Regions from separate parts of the Homo sapiens genome. Here region 1 is linked to region 2. Evidence: promoter capture Hi-C in human tissues and cell types (Jung and others, 2019). All regions are on one chromosome and are shown on one strand. The core of a region is centred on a gene start or on the middle of the fragment in contact, and the rest is flanking DNA. Distances in the headings are between cores, read along the strand shown.

Region 1 (2,700 bases), core at 1-2,500, 73 kb after region 2:
ATTTGCCTATTGTACTTTAAAATATGAGGGCAGATTTCTGGAGCAGTAGGGGATTCTTGCAAATTTGCTCCTCTAACTCAACAGGAATTGGTGTGTGGTGTGTGCGTGTGTGTGTGTGTGTGTGTGTGTGTGTGTGTGTGTGTGTGTGTGTGTCTGATACTCATGAATAGCAACAAAGTTACAAATTTAAGAAGGCAATATAGCTTCCCTGCTAGGGACACTCTAAGGTCAGAACTTAATAGATGACAAGAATTTTAAAAAGACATGACTCAGATCTTACAATATCAAAGGGATACAAAGGGATAGTTTGAACAACTTTTTACCAATAACTTTGATGATTTCAAGTAACCAGAGGAACTTCCTGATAAAAACATACCTTTCTCAACTATCAGAAAAAGAAATTAAAAAGTTGAATATTTCAGTGTCTATTGAAGAAACTGAATCAATCATTAAAAACCTCCCCACGAAAAAGCTCCAAGCCCTTCTGGCTTCAATGGTAATTCTACCAAACATTGAAGGAATAAATAATACCATCTTGCACAAACTCTTTCAGAGAGCAGAGAAAAAGGGAACACTTCCCAATTCATTTTATGAGGACAGGATAACCCTGTTACCTGGGTGATCCTGACAAGGGCATTAAAAGAAAAGAAAATGGAATACAATGGTTGAGAACAGTGACATGCAGTCACCTGGAAAATTTCAATTCTCAGGAGCTCTGGTGAGAGTTTCCTTTTCTATGCAGCTTCACATCTCTATGCAGAAGAATAACTACAGTATAATGACAATCACAATCACCAACATTTTTTGAGTATTCTCTAAGTTTCAGGCGTCTTCTATGTATTAACTCATGTAATGCCCCTAACAATCTTTTCTTTTCCTTTCCTCTCTATCTTTTTTTGAACCAAGGTCTAACTATGTTGCCCAGGCTGGTCTTGAATTCCTGGGCTCAAGTGAACCTCCCATCTCAGCCTCCCAAGTAGCTGGGATGACAGGCATACACTGACACACCTGGATTCAGGAAGGTACTATTACTTTCCCCCTCTGTTTTGGGGGAAATTATAAAAAGATGTCTATTTAGGTCATGCATACAATGCTGTGTCCCAGGTAATTCAGTCCCAGGGTAGTGTTGCAGCTTACAAACTGTGTAGTCTAAACAGGAATTCTAATTTTTAAACTCTTCTCTTTTAAACATTTAAGGGACTCAAAGTATAACGATCGCTAGCAATTAATTAGCAAGCAATTAATTTCCAAGTAATTGCATTTGTGAACTCATTTTATTTTCAAAACAATCCTTTGAGGCAGATATTATTAGCTCTATTTTACTGATGGGACATGGAGGCAAACAGGAAAAGTCAAGTAACTTGCCCATAGCTGCTGAGGCAGTCAGGATTTGAACCCAGGTGGTCTGACCAGAGTTTTCTCTTTATCACTATGTATTTCTGCACAATCCGTGGGTGTTCTTGTCAAATGCCTACATCCTCTCTATTCTCTAGCATGCCTGAAAATCTCTCTCGTTCCTAGGCCAAGAGAACCTCTCTCAAGCTTCCTGGCTCCTTGCCATCTCTGCCCCTCCATGACTCCCCATCTCTGCCTCACTGTCTCCCACAAGGCATGCTAATAATAACCATCCTGTTCCTTGCCAATTCCTCATTCACAGGAACCCCATCCTTCTAGTTCTGGCTCCTTTCTCCAGAAAATAACCTATCTGGAGGCTCTAGTTCTTCCTCTCTTCATGCAATAGCAACAACAATCACTATCACCATAATAATACTAATAACAGTCAATACCTATTGAGAATTTGCTATGTGGCAGACACTGCCCAAACAACTGTACCTGTGTATTATCTCAGTTTAATTGTGATTGTCACAACAGCCCTATGCAGGAGGTTCCATGATTATCTCCATTTAGCAGATAATGCAACTGAAGCACAGAGTGAATAAGTAGCCTGACCAGGGTCACAGAGATGAAAGTAGTGGACAGCCTGCTGGGTAGACACAAGGCAAGCTGCTCATAGCATTATGCTATTACACAAGGGGGAGATGGAGAGAGCTAGACAAGCTATTCCCAAATATCCAATCAGTATTAGGATGGATAGCAGCAAAATTGTTTAGCATAAGTATATCCCATGCACTATTTGGGATATACTTATAGTTTAAAAATGACTCCTTGTTCATCTGAAATTCAAAGTGAACTTAGCACCCTGTGTTTTATCCCTCAACCCTAGCTGGACCAACATTCCAAAGATGTGAGGAGGGAAAGCCCAAGTATTTCTAAAGACCAGATGTGGTTCTGAAGTGAGAATTTCAGCCCAGGTCCTCTTTAAAATCCTGCCTAAGAGGTCTGCTTCTAAGTGATATAGGACCCCTAAGGGAGTTCCCATATATAGGAAACCAGGAACTAGAGGGGGAGCAGCCAGGGGAAAAAAAACCCAAGGGAAGGGCTGTGAAGTGTTCTGAGAAGGGGGAGATCCTCTAGTCTCCCGACTCTGTAATGCTCACAAGAGAAGGGTCTGCTGTAAAGGGAAGCTGAGGGGCAGGAGTCATGCACCTGCTAGGCTCCTTGTCTTTTCCTGCCCCCTGGCTTCTTTCACTGTGGCTGTCACAAACCTTGCTTAAGAAAATAAGGAAGAAGAGATGAAACCGTAAAGGGGAACTCAGGAGACAATAATCTCTCTTTCCTCTTTCTCTCCCAGCTTCCAGC
Region 2 (2,700 bases), core at 112-2,611:
ATGATACTTATGTCAACGATGTAAATGTTTCACTCGAGTCTCCTCTGTGCCCAGGCTCTGTGCTGACCCCTGTGGACACAAAGATGAATTAAGTCCTGGTCCCACTAAAGGAGTTCACAGTCTAATTGAGGAGACTTAAATAGACCATTAGAGTTTAAGTTCATTAACAAAGAATTCTGAGCATAGTATGCCTGGGCCTGGACTGGGGTGGGATAGATGGAGAGTGACCCAGTTTTACCTGGGAGTCAGGAAGGCTCCCTGGAAGAGGTGACATTCCAGCTGGGGGTGGAAGGACAAGTGTCAGTTTGTGGGTGAAGAAGGGAGTTGGACATCCCTGACAGAAGGAACAGCGTGTGCAAAGGTCCTGTGCTCTGACCATCGGGAAATAGGGAGTTGGGAGAACCAGAACAGTGGGAAGCTGAGATGCAGTGAGGCCTGTGGGGCTGGAGTGAAGGTCACAACCTTGAAGCCCTAAAGGCTGAATCATATGCAAATGTGCCTTATTGTGGCCCACTCTGTGTGTGTGTGTGTGTGTGTAAGCTGCCCCCATTTGGAAATAAGGAAGTTTCACATTAAAATCTGGGTTTCCAGCTTTTCTTGAGAGATAAGAAGATCTGGGTTAGAGCTCCCACCTTTGCAACAGGTAGCTGGAGCTGAGTATCCACTACCCACCTTTGACAGGGGAGCAGCCCTGCAGACTGCATCCTGCTGATCAATGAACGGGTCCGTCTGCACACCCAGGTGGCCTTCCACAGGTGCAACCCCTTCCCAGCTCCCGAAGGCATTTGAATTTGGGACTAAACACCCCCTTCTACTATATAATTAATATTTGGAACACAGTAGCTTTTGGAATAATAGCTAATAATAAAAACAATTTTAAGGATTGAAAGCCAGTCCTAAGTCATATTGGATGACAATTCCTGCACGGGGTATTGAAAATGGCAAGGAAACTAGCTGCTGTTTAGTGAGTGCTTCCTCTGAGCCAAGCAGGTGCCAAGTACTAAGCATGTGTTTTCTCATTCAATTCTGGCAACAGTCTTGTAGATGTCATTATTACTTCCATTTCACAGATGGGGAACTGAGGCTCACAGAGAACTGAGGATTTGCCTAAGGTCACATAGCCAAGGAATGGCAGAGCTGAAGATTTGGGTTCATATCCATCACCCCCAATGGCTGACTGTTTTCTCACCTGTAGCCCTCAGTGTCCAAAGTCCCCAGACCTACCCGGTCTTGACAAGTTGCTCAGCTGCTCCTGGGTGGCCTGGCATGCTGTCCAAATGGCAGTGGTTTCAGGCGGGCGGTCGCTGGCAGCTGTGGCAGGTGGAGAGGAAGTGGGGGAATCGCTGGGACTTGGGAATCCCTGCCACTTCTGCTTTTCCACTCTTTAATGAAGCTCTCCTGGCTGCCTTGTCCCGCCCTTTTCGGGGCCCACCTCCCAGAGGGTTGGGCAAGCTGCCTCATCCTCTGCCCACAAGCAAGAGCGGGTGGAAGGTGTGGGAAGAGGAAAAGACAGCCTTTTCCAAGCGATGTCTCTAATCTTGGTAGCAGGAAGGTAGAATTAGCCCCATTTTACAGAGAAGGAAACTGAGGCACAGAGAAACCATACAGCTTCCCTTTCCCTCCCACTCCATAGTTGTGTGCCCCAAGGGGAGCCTGATCCCTGCTCTTGGGACTCACAGGTGATAATCAGACCCCTGCCAAGTACTGGGAGCAGTGGCTCTGGTCTCCTTCCCCAGCCCCCTTCCTGTCTTTAGCCTGACTTGTACCTCGCTTCAAATCTCAGCTCTGTCCCTCCCTAGCTATGAGACCTTGGGCAGGTGACCTCATATCTCTCTGCTGGTTTTCTCCCCTTAAAAAAAGTTTAATGAGGCTGGGCACAGTGGCTCACATCTGTAATCCCAGCACTCTGGGAGGCTGAGGGGGGTGGATCACCTGAGGTCAGGAGTTTGAGATCAGCCTGACCAACATGGTGAAACCCTGTCTCTACTAAAAATACAAAAATTATCTGGTTTGTGGTGGTGCATACCTGTAGTTCCAGATACTCGGGAGGCTGAGGCAGGAGAATCACTTGAACCTAGGAGACAAGGTTGCAGTGAGCTGAGATCACGTCACTGCACTCCAGCCTGGGCACAGAGCGAGACTCCGTCTCAAAAAAAAATAGTTAATGAAAATAACAGTTAACATTTATTGAGCACTTACTATGTATCAGGCATTCTTCTAAACAATTTCTCTTCAAATTCACTGAACACTTACTTTGAACATCCCTTTATGGTAAAGATGTTATTTTCATTCTTCAGCTCAGAAAACTGAGACTCAGAGAGCTACGTCGCCAACCACGCCACTCAGCTATTAATGGTACTGCCGTGATTTCTAACCAGCGGGCTGGCTTCAGGGTATACCAGTTAGCCACTGGGCTCTGCTGCTGTGGAGGGGATAATTCACAGACCTCGTGATTACTTCATAGTACAGCTGGTACTGCAAATAGTAGGTACTCAATAATGTAAATTCCCCACGCACACCCTCTGCAGTTAGTGCCCTGCAGGTCTGCTTTCAGGCTGTCCTGAAAGCCAGTTCCTACCTGGAATGCAGACACCTCTCCAGCATCTCTGTACCCCATCACTCCCAGCAGGCCTCCCCTGAGCCCCCCAGGCTCCCCCTCTGTGGGATGGACCAGTAGGGGCACAGCCACTTTCCCTTATA

What was found. The method cuts DNA at HindIII sites, captures the fragments that hold promoters and counts their contacts. A contact is called where the count stands out against the background at its distance.
Region 1: a contact is called between a fragment that was not itself captured here and the fragment with the promoter of OCSTAMP in region 2, in 2 of the 25 tissues and cell types used here (aorta and spleen).

The regions. Positions count from the first base shown.
Region 1 is chr20:46,622,517-46,625,216 of GRCh38, forward strand. The region is part of intron 1 of SLC13A3 (solute carrier family 13 member 3); the gene reads right to left. Among named protein-coding and RNA genes, the nearest start is that of SLC13A3, 28 kb to the right of the region's middle. RefSeq lists an enhancer at 1-173. The HindIII fragment of the contact is 3,883 bases long and covers 1-2,700 here.
Region 2 is chr20:46,549,293-46,551,992 of GRCh38, forward strand. It overlaps OCSTAMP (osteoclast stimulatory transmembrane protein), which reads right to left and starts at 1,362. Exons shown (of 3, transcript NM_080721.3): 1 at 1,225-1,362. The coding sequence starts at 1,268. The HindIII fragment of the contact is 9,290 bases long and covers 1-2,700 here.